Regions from separate parts of the Homo sapiens genome. Here all the other regions are linked to region 4. The links are contacts of gene promoters, found by promoter capture Hi-C in blood cells and fetal thymus (Javierre and others, 2016). All regions are on one chromosome and are shown on one strand. The core of a region is centred on a gene start or on the middle of the fragment in contact, and the rest is flanking DNA. Distances in the headings are between cores, read along the strand shown.

What was found. Contacts are between HindIII fragments. The CHiCAGO score rates a contact against its expected background, and 5 or more counts as called.
Region 1: a fragment that was not itself captured here is called in contact with the fragment with the promoter of MTDH in region 4 in 2 of 17 cell types (non-activated CD4 T cells and fetal thymus); the score reaches 7.7 in non-activated CD4 T cells.
Region 2: a fragment that was not itself captured here is called in contact with the fragment with the promoter of MTDH in region 4 in 4 of 17 cell types (naive CD8 T cells, fetal thymus, total CD4 T cells and 1 more); the score reaches 11.6 in naive CD8 T cells.
Region 3: a contact is called between a fragment that was not itself captured here and the fragment with the promoter of MTDH in region 4, in 2 of 17 cell types (fetal thymus and non-activated CD4 T cells). The highest score is 11.3, in fetal thymus.
Region 5: a fragment that was not itself captured here is called in contact with the fragment with the promoter of MTDH in region 4 in 1 of 17 cell types (naive CD8 T cells); the score reaches 8.6 in naive CD8 T cells.

Annotation. Positions count from the first base shown.
Region 1 is chr8:99,894,969-99,897,958 of GRCh38, forward strand. No RefSeq gene overlaps it. Among named protein-coding and RNA genes, the nearest start is that of COX6C, 2.8 kb to the left of the region's middle. The HindIII fragment of the contact is 713 bases long and covers 1,137-1,849 here.
Region 2 is chr8:95,271,104-95,274,106 of GRCh38, forward strand. The region is part of intron 1 of CFAP418-AS1 (CFAP418 antisense RNA 1); the gene reads left to right. Among named protein-coding and RNA genes, the nearest start is that of TRS-AGA2-5, 2.9 kb to the left of the region's middle. The HindIII fragment of the contact is 4,275 bases long and covers 1-3,003 here.
Region 3 is chr8:100,152,376-100,155,499 of GRCh38, forward strand. It overlaps POLR2K (RNA polymerase II, I and III subunit K), which reads left to right. Exons shown (of 4, transcript NM_005034.4): 4 at 919-1,628. The coding sequence ends at 941. Among named protein-coding and RNA genes, the nearest start is that of POLR2K, 3.3 kb to the left of the region's middle. The HindIII fragment of the contact is 3,247 bases long and covers 1-3,015 here.
Region 4 is chr8:97,642,369-97,645,713 of GRCh38, forward strand. It overlaps MTDH (metadherin), which reads left to right and starts at 1,816. Exons shown (of 12, transcript NM_178812.4): 1 at 1,816-2,519. The coding sequence starts at 2,139. RefSeq lists silencers at 1,404-1,513, 1,694-2,153, 2,424-2,493, 2,777-2,945 and enhancers at 1,666-2,646, 2,647-3,345. The HindIII fragment of the contact is 3,502 bases long and covers 1,031-3,345 here.
Region 5 is chr8:95,248,672-95,251,800 of GRCh38, forward strand. The region is part of intron 5 of CFAP418 (cilia and flagella associated protein 418); the gene reads right to left. Among named protein-coding and RNA genes, the nearest start is that of CFAP418-AS1, 19 kb to the right of the region's middle. The HindIII fragment of the contact is 1,582 bases long and covers 578-2,159 here.

The sequences.
Region 1 (2,990 bases), core at 243-2,742, 2.3 Mb after region 4:
ATAGGTTCTGTTCTAGAGCCGAACAGACCTGGATTTGAGTCCCAGCTCATCAACTTGTAGCGGCAAATTTCTTCATCTTTCTAAGTCTGCTTTCTCCTCTAAAAATAGTACCCATTTTGTTGGGTTGTGATGTAAATTAAATGGGATAATGTATATGCAGCTTGAGTATCCCTTATCTGAAATATTTGAGACCAGAAGTGTTTCAGATTTTGGATTTTTTCAGATTTTTGAGTATTTGCAGAATACATGCCAGTTGAGCATCCCAATCTGAAAATCTGAAATCCAAAATGCTCCACTGAGCATTTCCTTGAGCATCACATCAGTGCTCAAAAAGTTTTGGATTTTGGAGCGTTTTGGATTTTGGATTTTCAGATTAAGGGTGTTCAACCTATACAGTGCTTGACAAACAGACATTCTGAATATGCATTCCTCCCTGTGTTCTTTTGCCTGTCCTGCATTCCTTCAATCTTTCTTTTAGTAGCAGTGCTTAATCAATCCTTCATCACTTCTAGCCATGTGATTCTACAACAGTCAAATCTTATTCCAGACTGGGTGTGGTGGCTCACACCTGTAATCCCAGCACTTTGGGAGGCCAAGGAAGGCAGATTACTTGAGCCCAGGTGTTGGAGACCAACCTGAGCAACATAGACCACCATCTCCATAAAAAACTTTAAAACTTAGCCGGGCATAGTGTGATTTATGCCTATAGTCCCAGCTACTCAGGAGGCTGAGGCTGGAGGATCACTTGAGCCCAAGAGTTGCAGGCTGTAGTGAGCTATGACTGCACCACTGTACTCCAGCCAGACAGAGTGAGACCCTGTCTTTAAAAAGAAAAAGAAAAAACATTATTCCAGTTGAGCAGATGACCCAAGAGTAGCCAAGCAATGTAGCCCATCCCCTTGGCCACAGTAATTTGTTGAGGATGGGCACAGGATTCTGGCCAGGCCAGTGAAACTCAATTCTATGACTTCTGTTGAAACTACTGGGGGAAAAGATATCTTTTTATAGAGAGAGGAGTTTGCATTGGGTTGCAGTAGGGGTCTTGCAGATCTGTGAGAGTATAAAGCCAGAGGGTACTGTGTGCCTATAATGTGCCAAGCACAGCACATGACAAAATGGCATGAAAAGCCTCATGAAGCTTTCATTCTAGTGGGCTTCGAGGAAAAAACCAACAAAAATAAAAAATATATCTGAAGGAGGTAAGTGGAATGGAAACAACAGAGTAGGGGTAAAGAAAGTCTGTGTGAAGAGGTATCTTTTTATATTGAAAGGTTGATGAAACAACCCATGAAACAAGCCCATGGTCTTCACTAAACTAAAAGATGCCTCAGTGGAAAGACTAGGCTTGTTCTGCATAGCCCTAAGGAATAAAGTAGGATGGATGGGTGGAAGATACTGGGAGTTAGATGTCAGTTAAGTATTCCCCATGGCTAGAAATCAGTCCCTTTCAAGGTCATCCTCAACCAGAGACACATCCACTTGGGGGAGACAAGGATCCCTTAATTGGTAAAGAGGCATACCAACAGTCTTGTTCCCACTATATCTCTCCATTCTGGCCTTGACAATCACCAGGTCAGCATGTTACCTTAAAATGTGTTGATAAGATGCCACTTTTTAAATACAAACTTAGGGGGAAGTGGGGTCCAGGGTAGGGAAACAGCTGGTTGCATGGCAAGAGTGATGCCGTCTTGAAGAAAAACTGCCATGATGACCGATGTTTGACTACTGCATACCAAGGTGTTTCCATGGCATGGATAAACCCTCATAAAGATGTTTATCTAACCTCCCCAGTGGTCACAAGTTTTGCTAGAAAGTCTGAGGCATGACCAGCTGCATGTTTTACCAAAAAAGCTTGCTATATAGAGGATATTTTCTGGAGCACAGATGCGGGGATCTACCATCCCTCAGCCAACAGAGAGATTGTTTCTGTTCCTAAGTCCCTTTTAAATGTTTCTTCCTGAGAAACTGGATTTGTCAGTCTCTCTCTTCAGCCTTTGGGGGCAAGTTTGCATAGACCTGCTCACCACTGTTCCTTGTTAACTGTGAATCCTGTCCTTAGGACAAAAGACCCTTGACCATTAATCTTTCCCTTAGGCAGATTTATCAGCCTCTTTTTCAGCCTTTCAGCTTCCTCAGACTTTTGGGGGTAGGTTTGCCTAGGCTGCCTACCGCAGCACACCCAGGAACATGCTGGCTCCTCCATCACTATCCTGCTCTGAACATGCTTTTGAGAAAACCTGACCTCTCACCTGTGCTGCAGCCTTTCCTATTGTGGAAAGTGTATACAACACCTAGAAAGGCAAATTACAATGCCAAGAGCTAAAAGGAATGAAATGGACCCTGAAACAAATTAGGCAGTAGTCACTCGGAAGAGTGGAAAACTTTCAATCCTTTTGACCATAAGGTATATCACTAATACAGTATCAGTGGGAAGGGCCAGAAATAATTTTATGGATTAAGAAAATGTGAGGGGCTCAGAAGTTAAAAAGCAACAACAGAAACAAGCTCTATCTGAGGTAAAATAGCAGCAGCTGCAATATTTGACAAACCTCAGAGGTAGATCTACTGACTCTTACATATAATTTATTTCCACTTTCAAATTTAACAAATAATGAGAGTGTTGAGTCAGAGTTAGATCCTAGAGTTCAGAGACAACAGGCTGGGCATGGTGGCTCACACCTGTAATCCCAGCACTTTGGAGGCCAAGGTGGGAGGATAACTTGAAGCCAGGAGTTCAAGGCCAGCCTGGGCAATATAGTGAGACCCCCATCCCTATAAAAAAAAAACCAAAACTTTTTTTTTTTTTAATTAGCCTGGTGTGGTGGCTCATGCCTGTAGTCTCAACTACTCAGGAGGCTGAGGCAGGAGGATCACTTGATCCCAGGAGTTCAAGACTGCAGTTAGTGAGCTACACTGCACTCTAGCCTGGGTGACAGAGTAAGACCCTGTCTCTAATGGAGAGATAGAGAAAGAGAGAGAGAGAGAGAGAG
Region 2 (3,003 bases), core at 504-3,003, 2.4 Mb before region 4:
CAGATCAGACACTGTCAGGATGCTTAAGTAGTATCCTAGAGGCACCCTGACATGTATTACCCTTGTAGTCAGAGTAGAGAACTCTAGAGGGTGGGGAGACAATGTTGGGGCAAGGAGGGGACTCGGACACTAGTTATTTGTCTAGAATCCTGGCATATTCTATGATTTCCAACTAATTAATTTTTTAAAGTTTTTTTCCAAGTTGCCTTGCTGGGCGATTTTACCTAGAACCGGTCTCTAGCAGAAAGGCAAGGAAAAGCTGCTTGAAAAAGCGGTCCTTGCAACATGGTTCCAGGGGAAGTCATAGTTAGTGGCCATCCAGTTTAACAGGCTTACATTAATGATTTGATTTTGCTCTTGAGAAGATGAAATCTGAGGGGATCTGTACCAATGTTGAAAGTATCTGTTAGCGGCCGGGCGCGGTGGCTCACGCCTGTAATCCCAGCACTTTGGGAGGCCGAGGCGGGCGGATCACGAGGTCAGGAGATGGAGACCATCCTGGCTAACACGGTGAAACCCCGTCTTTACTAAAAATACAAAAAATTAGCTGAGCGTGGTGGCGGGCGCCTGTACTGGCAGCTACTCGGGAGGTTGAGGCAGGAGAATGGCGTGAACCCGGGAGGCGGAGCTTGCAGTGAGCCAAGATCGCGCCACAGCACTCCAGCTTGGGCCACAGAGCGAGACTCCGTCTCAAAAAAAAAAAAAAAAAAAAAAAAGAATCTATTAGCGTGTAGAAGATTTGCAATGAGAGATGGTGAAAAAATAAAAGAGAAAATGTTTCTGGTTTTCTGTGTTTTGTTTTTTGTGTATATTAGAAAAAAATTAGTGTGTTCCCTCGCTCCCTCACTTCTACTCCCATTTTTCTGGTCTTTTGATTGGATAATTTATTCCGTTTACATTTTAAAATTTCATTTTATTGATTTTATTTACTTTCAGTAGCTTTTGGGGTACAAGCGGTTTTTGGTTACATGGATGAATTGTATAGTGGTGAAGTCTGAAATTTTAGTGCACCTGTCACCCGAGTAGTGTACATTATACCCAAAAGGTAGTGTTCTTTTTTTTTTTTTTTTTTTCCCAGACGGAGTTTTGCTCTTGCTGCCCAGGCTGGAGTGTGCAATGGTTTGATCTCTGCTCACCACAACCTCTGCTTCCTGGGTTCAAGTGATTCTCCTGCCTCAGCCTCCCAAGTAGCTGGGATTACAGGCATGTGCCACCATGCCGGGCTAATTTTGTATTTTTAGTAGAGACAGGGTTTCTCCATGCTGTTCAGGCTGGTCTCGAACTCCTGACCTCAGGTGATCCGCCCGCCTCAGCCTCCCAAAGTGCTGGGATTACAGGCGTGAGCCATCACACCCAGCCTCCAATAGATAGTGTTACTATCCTTTACCCCTCACCCGTCCTCCTCTCTTCTGAGTCTCCAGTGTCCATTATGCCACTCTGTATGCCTTTGTGTACCCATAAATTAACTCCTACTTACGAGTGAGAACATATGATACTTGGTTTTCCATTCCTGCCCACTCCCATTTTAATAAAATGGATGTATGGATCATCCAGAGTTTGGTATTTTGAGAATTTCATTTATGGCTCATTCAACTCTCCGGTGGGTCTCCTGACTTGAGTCATGTTCTCTTTCTGGTTTGCCACCGAGAGTGAAAGGTTGAGTTCAGAGTCTACAAGGAGAAATGCCATATGTCACATAAGAGTAACATATGTGTATGGCTGTGTGATAAACTGTAAAATTACAGTGCACTATTAAAATCTCCAGATGTCAGAAAGAAAGTTATACAGTTAAAAATTCAGTGGGCTCTAAACAATGGATGTGGATGTATAAGATGAAGGTAGTGTGGCTTTAGAAGATTCTACATTCAGGCAAATCCTATTAGATCATTTTTTTTTAAACCGGGCTATAAATTCCTTTGGTATAACTTTCTGTTTAACTAACAATCTTATTTCTTTCTCCATAATTGTTAACGTGTGTAGACAATGTCGTGAATCCTTGTCCCCTGTCTTTCCCAGTCATGGAAAGCATGCTGAGTGTCAGGTATTTCGTAAAGAATAGGCAAGTGCCTCCAGGTGATACAATTATTAACATGGTAAAGGAGACCGGGTGCCGTGGCTCATGCCTGTAATCCCAGTACTTTGGGAGGCCAAGGCGAGCGGATCACTTGAGCCCAGGAGTTTGAGACAGCCCAGGTGACATGGCAAAACGCTGTCTCTAACAAAAAAATTACAAAAATTAGCCAGGCATGGCAGCGCTGCACCTGTGGTCCCAGGTATGTGGTAGACTGAGGTGGGAGGATGGCTTGAGCTCAGGAGGTGGAGGCCGCAGTGAGCCGAGATAGTGCCACTGAACTTTAGCCTGGGTAAGAGAATGAGACTGTCTTAAAAACAAAACAAAAAACATGGTAAAGGGGCATGTCATGTATTATTACATTCACTTAGTATTCAAGGAAGTATTTTAGGTAAAAGGTGTCCAAATTAGGAAACCAAAGCACTGTTGGCTTTCCCAAGAATCTGAAGAACTCTCTGAGCCTGGTTTCTTGCTAGCACCATTATAAATGAGTTAGAGGTGGTGAGGCAGCTGGTTCTGCTGTCCCACGCCGCCTCAGGCCAACTGCTTCAGTTACAAGGTGTTCTGTAATCTCCCTGGCTGCTCACATAATGAATTGCAAGGCTTCTTTGAATTCCCATGTACTTAGGTTTAATTTTCCCTTCCCTGCATCTTTCCCCTGCATACTGCAGGCCTTTTAAACAAATACCCACTGGTGGGCGGTGACATTGGCATGAGGGGAGGCATCCTCCTGGATCAGTTGCAAGCCTCCTAGCAGCTGATGCCATGGAAGAATGGAGTAGCACCGAAGCAGCTCCAGTTCTTTTAAGTGGTCCCTGAATTAGGCCTCGATGTCATGTAGGTAAATTCAGCCCAGAACATGCAGAATCTTTATTGGAATTTGTACATTCATCTCTCACAGCTGTGGAGAGTTTAGACTAATCACAACTCTC
Region 3 (3,124 bases), core at 142-2,641, 2.5 Mb after region 4:
CTTATGCGACCACTGTTTATATGTGCTCCATCTTTGACCAAAACGTCATTATGGGTGCATGACTACATTTATATAAGTATTCATTCTTGAGCTTCAGTTTATGGACAAGCTAAAGTTCACGAGGAGAAATACAAATATTGTGTATACTACCTAATGGAAAAAGTTGGGCATACAAATTGTTCAAATACTGAGAGTAGGCCCAGCATGGTTGCTCACACCTATAATCCCAGCACTTTGGGAGGCTGCAGGAGTTCAAGACCAGCCTGGGCAACATAGTGTGACCCCCATGTGGAAAAATAAAATACAGAGTAAATTGTTATGATACAACTAACACACATTGTAAATCGACGGATTATCCGCTTTAACATTACTTTAGTGTTTTTTTTTGTTTGTTTTTTGTTTTTTTTTGAGACGGAGTCTCGCTCTGTCACCCAGGCTGGTGTGCAGTGACGCAATCTCGGCTCACATTGCAAGCTCTGCCTTCCGGGTTCATGGCATTCTCCTGCCTCAGCCTCCTGAGTAGCTGGGACTACAGGCACCCGCCACCATGCCCGGCTAATTTTTTTTATTTTTTAGTAAAGATGGGGTTTCACCATGTTAGCCAGGATGGTCTCGATCTCCTGACCTCGTGATCCGCCCACCTCAGCCTCCCAAAGTACTGGGATTACAGGCGTGAGCCACTGCGCCTGGCCTGCTTTAGTGTTTTTTGATACATTTTATGGAAAAGGTGGTAATAAAAATTGAAAGTGTTTTTAGTTTATTTAAAAACCAGTTGTCATAGTAAATAGTGAATTCCATTCTTTTTTGCATTTTAAGTTAAATAACAAACCAGCTTATTGCAAAGAGAAAGTGACTTTGAAACCTTCAGTCTTAATAATGTTTAAGTACCGTTTTTGTCCTTAACTCAAATTAATACAGTGGTCGTTTTTGATGCTCGATGAATGCTGGGAATTCAGAGGAATGTCTTCACTTATACTTGGATTTGCTCTCTTCCCATTTCTGATTGTTGTATAGCTTTCGATTTTGCTTACAGTAGTTCCCCCTTATCTTCGGGAGATACATTCCAAGGCCCCCAGTGAACTCCTGAAACCTCAAACAGTACCAAACCTTTATACACTGTTTTTTCCATATATATATACCTATGATAAAGTATAATGTATAAATTAAGCATAGCAAGAGATTAATAATAATGTAATAGAACAATGATAACATACTATAATAAAAGTTATGTGAATGTGGTTGGTCTCTCTTGCTTTCAAAATATCTTCTTGTACAGTACTCACCTATTTTAGAATGTGGTTGACTACAGGTAACCAAAACCACAGAAAGGGAAACTTTGGATGAGGGGGGCACTACTGTACTTAGGAATACAACTATATACATATGATTTTATTTTTAAGACCATATTATATTTGGGTATCTACTAATATTTTGTATAAAGCAATTTTTTGTTCCATTACGTGACTTTTTGTTTTATTGTATATGTAATTTAACACACAATAAAGGGTAAAGTTGCTTCCCCAAACCACACTTTTAATCAAAACCTAGAATCATCTGCAGTCCTTGTTAAAAATGCAGGTTTCTAGAACCCTCTGAAGTTCTGATTAAATAAATTTATTGCAAACCACTGTCCTGTGTCACTGTGTCATTTGATATGAAGTATACCATTGTGCTTGGTGTCAGTATGCATATGTCATCTTGAGTTCAGTTTTTCATTTATTACTAGGTATAGGCCTTTCTGTATTTTCATATAATGCTTGGTTCTCTTTTAAATCTCAGAATAATGAAGGGAAACTTTAATTGTTTTCTGTAAGGCAAAATCAACCCCAAGCAAAGTGAATGAAGCAGGCTGTTAAGCCAAGTGCAGTTTCCAAGGTGTAATCACTCATTAAGGTCAACAGTTCTGCTTTTAGGATATAAAAAGAACAGGCAGTGACTCGGGAGGCTGAGATGGGAGGATCACTTGAACCCAAGAGTTTGAGGCTGCAGTGAGCCATAATCATGCTGCTGCACTCCAGCCTGATGGACAGTGCAACACCCTGAGTCAAGGGCTGGGGAGGGGAGCGTTGGTTTACACTGAATTATTGGATAAATGTTTAAGTCTTCAGCCTTGATCTTTGGGATGTAGAATTAATGGTCACACTTATACGCTATTCTGTTCAAGGATTCCATGGTTGTGGAATGTCATGTTGGCCAGCCTGATGTGCATTTTAAAGATTAGATGTATTCCAACTTTATTAATAGTTATGTCTGTCTTTGACATTCAAAATATTGTCCATAATACTTTGTTAAAAAAAACCCTGCATTTTTACCACCATCTTCATATATTAAATTCTATAAATTTATTACATGCTATATGAAATACTTCCATGCTCAGATTTTTGTTTTGTTTTGTTTTTTTAAGACCGGGTCTCCCTCTGTTGTCCAGACTGGAGTGCAGTGGCATGATCATAGCTCACTACAGCCTCCATCTCCCAGGCTTACACAATCTTCTCACCTCAGCTTCCTGAATAGCTGGGACTGCAAGCACACACCACCATGCTGGCTGATTATTTTGATTTTTAGTAGAGATGAAGTCTCACTACATTGCCCAGGCTGGCAATGAAATTGAGCTTTCATAATTTTATAATTTTAGTATATTCCTTCTTGAACTTTTTAGATATGGGAGTCTCAATACATGGTATTTCTTTATGACAGTTCCCTAAACAGATAAATCCCCAACTTATGGGATAATATACTTCTCTTAACTCTTCTCATTTTAGACTAAGTCCTTTGCATATCAGTAGTTTAATTGAATATTGTTATCTGGTTAACTGGGCAGAATAACTTCATGCAAAATGTATTACAGCTGGAACTCAGACTGCTTTCAGTCAGCCACTTTTTGTGCTCCCTTCATGTATAAACTAGATGTAATTTTACCTCTTACCTACCTAGACAGTTTCAAGGAAAAAACTGATATAAAATTGCTTTTAAAACATTCTTTTGACTAGTGCTCTGTCAATATGAAAATTAGTAAGCTTGAGCTTGATGTTAGCACATCACTTGGTACCCTGTAAACTGCTTACTGACTGCACACACTGAAAAGCACATCCTTGTCCATGGGAAAAGCACTGAATGGAGATTT
Region 4 (3,345 bases), core at 566-3,065:
GGAGCGGTGGCTCACGCCTGTAATCCCAGCACTTTGGGAGGCCCATGCGCGCGGATCACGAAGTCAGGGCGACTGCAGCCTCGGCAACACAGCGAGACTCCATCTCAAAAAATAAAAAATAAAAAATTCACAGATGTTTATCTAGAATGGTCAGAATAGTCAGTGGAACTTCTTAGGAAAATCATGACCCTTCACATCTCTAGAACCAAAACACGTGCAGAAATCTTATTTCACAAATATAAATGGAATTTGGAAACTTTGAGTTAAAGCAGATCCCAATAACATTTGCTAAGTTTTTGGCCTCCTAATTTAATTTAGTCTTTAATCATAAGTCTTGGCAAGTGTAGTATGCTTTTATTATTTATTATTTACAAAACTCCCTTCCACACATGAATCACAATATGCATTACGACACTGTTGCAAAATAGGTCAAAATACATTTTTGGTATTTGGTGGTTATTAATATTACCCCTGCTGTATTCCTTGAGAAAGCCTGTATTTAGTTCACTTAAGACAGTTGCTTACACGCTAATGATCATTTACCGATAAAATACAGAGTTTCCTTATAGCAAAATATAATCTTAAAACCCTAAGGCAGCCTTCAAGCATTTCCCTTATAATTAAAACCTGAAGGCCTGGCGTGGTGGCTCACGCCTGTAATCCCAGCACTTTGGGAGGCTGAGGTGGGCGGATCACGAGGTCAGGAGATCAAGACCATCCTGGCTAACACGGTGAAACCCCGTCTCTACTAAAAATACAAAAAATTAGCCGGGCGTGGTGGTGGGTGCCTATAGTCCCAGCTGCTCGGGAGGCTGAGGCAGGAGAATGGCTTGAACCCAGGAGGCGGACCTTGCAGTGAGCGGAGATAGTGCCACTGCACTCCAGCCCGGGCGACAGAGCGAGACTCTTGTCTCAAAAAAAAAAAATTTGAAAAGGCAGTTCGTTTCCTTCTATAGCTGCATCCCAGAGATGGTCAACATAGCATATAAAAATGGAATTTTTGCAAACCCCTTTTGCAGTGTTGTAGAAAAGCTTAAAATAAAACGTAACGAGAAAGCTCCCTCCATAAGTAAATACAATCTAATGTGCTTCCCCTTATGTGTTATTAAAGCTACAAATTAGTAGGAAAAGAATAGTGCCGCCCACGGGCTTTCCAACTTTTGAATTCTGGGGACTAACAACAGAGAGCAAGAGTGAATGAGCCAAACGACGCAAACGTGCCCTCGCCAGGCTGGCAACTGGTAGGCACGCAGTGTATTAGTTGCCCTGGAGAGAAACACCCTGGAGAGAAATACCCAATTTGTGAACTAAACCTAGGTCCCGGAAGAACAGTGTTCGGCGTCAGACTCCGTTGAGCTCATTCTGGAAGGATCCAACTGGCGCCACCAGGGAGAAAAAGCGATTCCACCTCAATAACACTCCAGAAAAAGGCATGAAGAGCCCTATACCTGCCAGGGCGACTTTGACCTAGACCCGGTGACCCGGTTCCTAGCGCTGCAGCCCTACCCGCCCCCCGCCCGCCCCCGCCTTGCACGGAGCCCCTCCTCTGTACTCATTCGTTGCGCCACGTCTCCTAACTCTGCGCCACCAGCCACCCCGCGAAGGCGTCCACCAATTAACCCCTCCCAGCTTCTGGTCTACAGTAACGGGTCCCCAACGCCGCGTCTTAACCAGGCCCGAACCGACCACCGCCAACCTTCCCTGACACGCCTTTGCCCCACCCGACCCCGCCCGCCCCCACGTGACGCCCACGCCCCGCCCACTGGCGCCCACGTGACCCACGGTCGTCCCCGCGCGCGGCGTGGATCGCGGCCCAAGCCGCCATTGTTCCGCCGAGGGAGGACAGCGGGGCCTGGCGCTGGCGCCGAGACGCCGCTTAGCGGCCGCCACTGGAGACACTCCCTCCCGCCTCCCGGGTCTCCTGGCGGCGGCGGAGTGAGGCTGACAGCGGGGAACCTGGGAGACCCCTCCGCCCTCCCCGCGGTGGCAGCGGCCGATCCCCGGCTCCGGCGCGAGGGACGGCCGCGATGCGCTCGGCCTGAGGTTACCCGGCCCGGCCCTTCCTCGCTTCCCTCGACTATTCCACTGCGTCTCCGCGCCCCGGCGTCATCCTGCGAGTCCCTCTGACGGGAGGGAAGATGGCTGCACGGAGCTGGCAGGACGAGCTGGCCCAGCAGGCCGAGGAGGGCTCGGCCCGGCTGCGGGAAATGCTCTCGGTCGGCCTAGGCTTTCTGCGCACCGAGCTGGGCCTCGACCTGGGGCTGGAGCCGAAACGGTACCCCGGCTGGGTGATCCTGGTGGGCACTGGCGCGCTCGGGCTGCTGCTGCTGTTTCTGCTGGGCTACGGCTGGGCCGCGGCTTGCGCCGGCGCCCGCAAAAAGCGGAGGAGCCCGCCCCGCAAGCGGGAGGAGGCGGCGGCCGTGCCGGCCGCGGCCCCCGACGACCTGGCCTTGCTGAAGAATCTCCGGAGCGAGGAACAGAAGAAGAAGAACCGGAAGAAACTGTCCGAGAAGCCCAAAGTGAGTATGGGATGAGCGGCAGTAGAGAACGGGCGAAGGGCGGGCGTGGAGACCCTCGAGCTTGGGGGAGGCCGCGCCCCAGCCGGGAAGGAAAAGAGTGCTTAGTCGAAAGCCGAGAGGCAGCACTCCCAAGTGGAGGAGGAGGTGATAGGTGGTCATGTTATTTGGGGAATGGGGGGAACTCAGGAAGTATAGGACGAGTGGGGAAGCCCAGTTTCGAGGAAGGAAGTTAGGAGGTCTGGGGGTCCGTTCAGATAGGCGCCCAGAGGTCAAGCCATCTTTGGGAACCGTCACCGCTAGAATAAGCACAGCATCCTTCCTTGAGGCCTGCAGAGTAGGCTGCATGTGGAGCGTAATGGGACCTTAAGGTGGTGTTAGGAAGTTGTATAAAGACTGCGCTCGGAAGACAGATGTCTATCTCAAGTCACATTGAGACAGTAGGCAGTGGAAGAAGTGCGGTGACCTAGAAATTCTGGGGCTTACACAGGATTAAAGGTGTCCAGGTCTAGACGCGCTTCCATTTTAGTTGGGACTGTTAAAGGGAAATGGTTGCCCATTCTTGTTCTGGCAAATGTGGCCAACAGAGGCCGGAACGGGAGCAAGGCAAGAGGGGGTCGGTTACCTAATACGCTTTGAGGTGTATGGTCCTGTGAGAAAGAGCTAAGGCGAGTTCAACGAACGAGTCTGTTGCACACTCTGTGGCGTGGTAGATTTGTGAAATAGAGTAAAGGGAGATGACAGGGCAGAATGGTGAAAGCCGAGAGAGGAATTCAGGCACCGATTTACTGGGCCACGTGTGGAAGTTGCAGAGGGCATCACGTCTGTC
Region 5 (3,129 bases), core at 119-2,618, 2.4 Mb before region 4:
AAAAACATCAATTATGATTTCATGATAATCCATGTAATGAGTTCATATAAACATTCCATGGCAAAGAAAAGTAGAAAAAATTTTTAAAAAAGATGAAAAAATACAAAGTGAAAGGACGAAATACAGTATGAATACCAGAAAAAGAGATACGGTACCTAACCATTGCTTGTGGATATCACTGCAACAGAAGGCAGGCTACAAAGTGCCCTCTGGTGGTCAATGGGCACCATATTCAGTATTAAACTGTACGAAATTCAGGCACAATTTAGAAGGTTAGAACCTCACAAAACCTGACAGATTTTCCAAGCCAACTGTCTGACTTCAGGAAACAGACTGACTAGCTAAACGACTTAGCTAAGGGAAGAAATGAATAATCTAAATTTTAACAGAAAGAAAAAAACCCCGCCAAAACTAAGTTGTTGAGGAAAAATGTCCTTTATTTGATCTGCAAAATATTTTGAAAACTTAACATTTGATACTTGACTGAATCCTTAGCGATTTTAGGATTAGGAATCATGAATAGGCAGGGATCTAATTATGACATTTGAAATGGTTTTTAAAATGCACGTATCTTAAAAGCTTAGGGAAAAATCATTCCATTCTTAAAGAAAACACGATTTAATAGAAAAATAAAAGCATTTTCTTCAGCTGTTGTGGCAAGGTGGTCAGTAAGTATAGCTGACACTTCTTTTACAATGTTCTAAAACTTGTCTGGGTGTGGTGGGTCATGCCTGTAATCCCTGCACTTTGGGGAGCCAAGGTGGGTGGACCACTTGAGCTCAGGAGTTCGAGACCAGCATGGGCAACATGGTGAGACCCCATCTCTACAAAATTAGCTGGATGTGGTAGTGCGCACCTGTATTCCTAGCTGCTCGAGAGGCTGAGGCCGAAGGATCCTTTCAATCTGGGAAGTGGAGGTTGCAGTGAGCTGAAACTGCAGTCCTGCACTCTAGCCTGGGTAACAGGGTTTGCAAGATTGGCTCAGAAAAAAAAAAAAAGTTCTAAAACTTCTCAAAGATAGGATACATTTATTTCTCTCATCTGTAAAATAGGACAATAAAACAACTGCACAGCATTCCACTGTGTAACATTTAACTTGTCTTTGGTCACTGTCCACTTCTGGTTTCCTCAGTGATTATTCCACATCCTCCTCCACTCCCTTATTTTCAGCAGATCACATCTTCATTCTCAAAACCAGGTCGCCAGGTATGAAAGCCTTCAATTTCCTGGCAAGCTCACCCTGAACACATCAGTACCTTGCTGGCTTCCTCTCAGTCACAGAGGTCTTCCTTTTCCTATCCAAGGCTCACCTCCCATCAGTGCTCTTGACCCTATTGTCTCTATGACCTTGCTGCTCACATGCTTGTCCCCACCCATGTCTCCCTTCCCCTGGGTTCCTCTCATCTTATGAGCCCAGTATCTAAGAGTGTCATAGACTAGGTGCTGAATAATGTCTACTGGTAAACACCAATATATTGTACAAAATAAATCTATCAGTGATTTATATCCTAATGGTGGAGACCGCCTTATTCTTTAGCTGTTCCATTCTCTTATCTCCCAAACATATTCCTAAGTGTCTTGAGAACTGAGACAGTATTTTCTACTGATTTAAATAATGACTACTTGTTTATTTTTAATAGTATAATAAATCCTCTAGTTGTCACTGTTTTATCTAAAAGTACATATATTTTTTAAACCAGGCTGCCACAGATCTAGGGTAAACCAACTGGTGTTCTTGATAACTCTGAGATGCTGCAAGTTCCTCAAGTACCGACTAGGTTATCCATAGTTTACTTTATGCCTGTGTTCACCACTGCCTTGATGTTACATGCATTTTATTATCCTATGATAGTTTTATAAAAATTCATGCTTCATCTTGGTGACATATGGGGATTATTAACCACTTATTAGATTAACTAGTAGACAGTAAATAGCAGAGGGTTTAGAAAAGTCAGAAAAGGGAAAGTCAACCTGTAATTAAAAGCCAACTTTTCCACTTATGGGGTAAAAAGTGGGCTAAGCCTAAAAGTATGGGTTCCTAACCTCAGATTTTGGGAGTACATTAGGCTTTATTTGGGTTGGAAACTGTAAAATTTTTCAAGTTATAATTTTTCCATGTATTTTTATATTTGAATTGTATGTGTATGAGGGGCATTCAAAGCTTTCATAAGATTTGCAAAGTGGTTCTTGATGTGAAAAAGTTTAAAAACTATTAAATTAGGGTATACTCATAGATTTACCCAAGAATGGCTGCCAAAAAAGGCGTAGGGGAAAGTCTCTTACCCTTTTCTTTATGCTATTGAAAAGTGCTGCAATATTACACTGTATTAATTTTTAGCTTTAAATTTTTATTTGAAAATGTCAATGTAAAGTTCAAATATATTTTTATAACTTGTAACACCTTAAAGATAGTAGGTATTCTGTAAGTGTATAAGAATGTACAAATTATATAAATATGAGCAAGACATTATCTCAGCCACAAGGAGGGAGGTAGTCATACACCAACCTAAGAGCTTCAGTTTTATATTACAGTATATAATAGGTCCAAAGCACCGTGAATACACAGGAAGGGAAGAGTTTTCTTCCAGTTGAGAGAGTGGTGAAAGAATCATGGAAGACATGTGATGAATTATACTCTGAAGGACAGGTAGGGTTTAGGTAGATAAAATGGTGGGAAGGCATCCCAAGAGGTAAAGAGGTTGTACAAAGTCAGAGGGAATGGGAGCCTTGAGTACTCTGATGTAGCTAAAATCTTGCAAAGGTGAAATATACATTGTGGGAAGACAAAGCTGGATGATGGATGGATGGGAGCTGGATTATGGAGGGTCATGAATGCCATGCTAAGGAATTTGGACATTATTCTGTAAGTGGAAGGGTGTTGAGCAGGAGGACGGTATACTCTGAGCTATGCTTTAATTCTGAACAAGGGAAGGATGGTCTGAGAGAAGAGATTGTAGCCAGAAAAACCAGTGAGGAGGTTACTTCTGTATTCTTGTCCAGAAGTAACATGTCCTTATCTAGGCTGACAGCAGGCAGATGGAGAGAAGGAGATGGATGACAGAAACACAGTCATGCATTGCTTATGCTTTGTTAGGCAATTCCATCATTGTGGGAATATCAAAGAGTGAA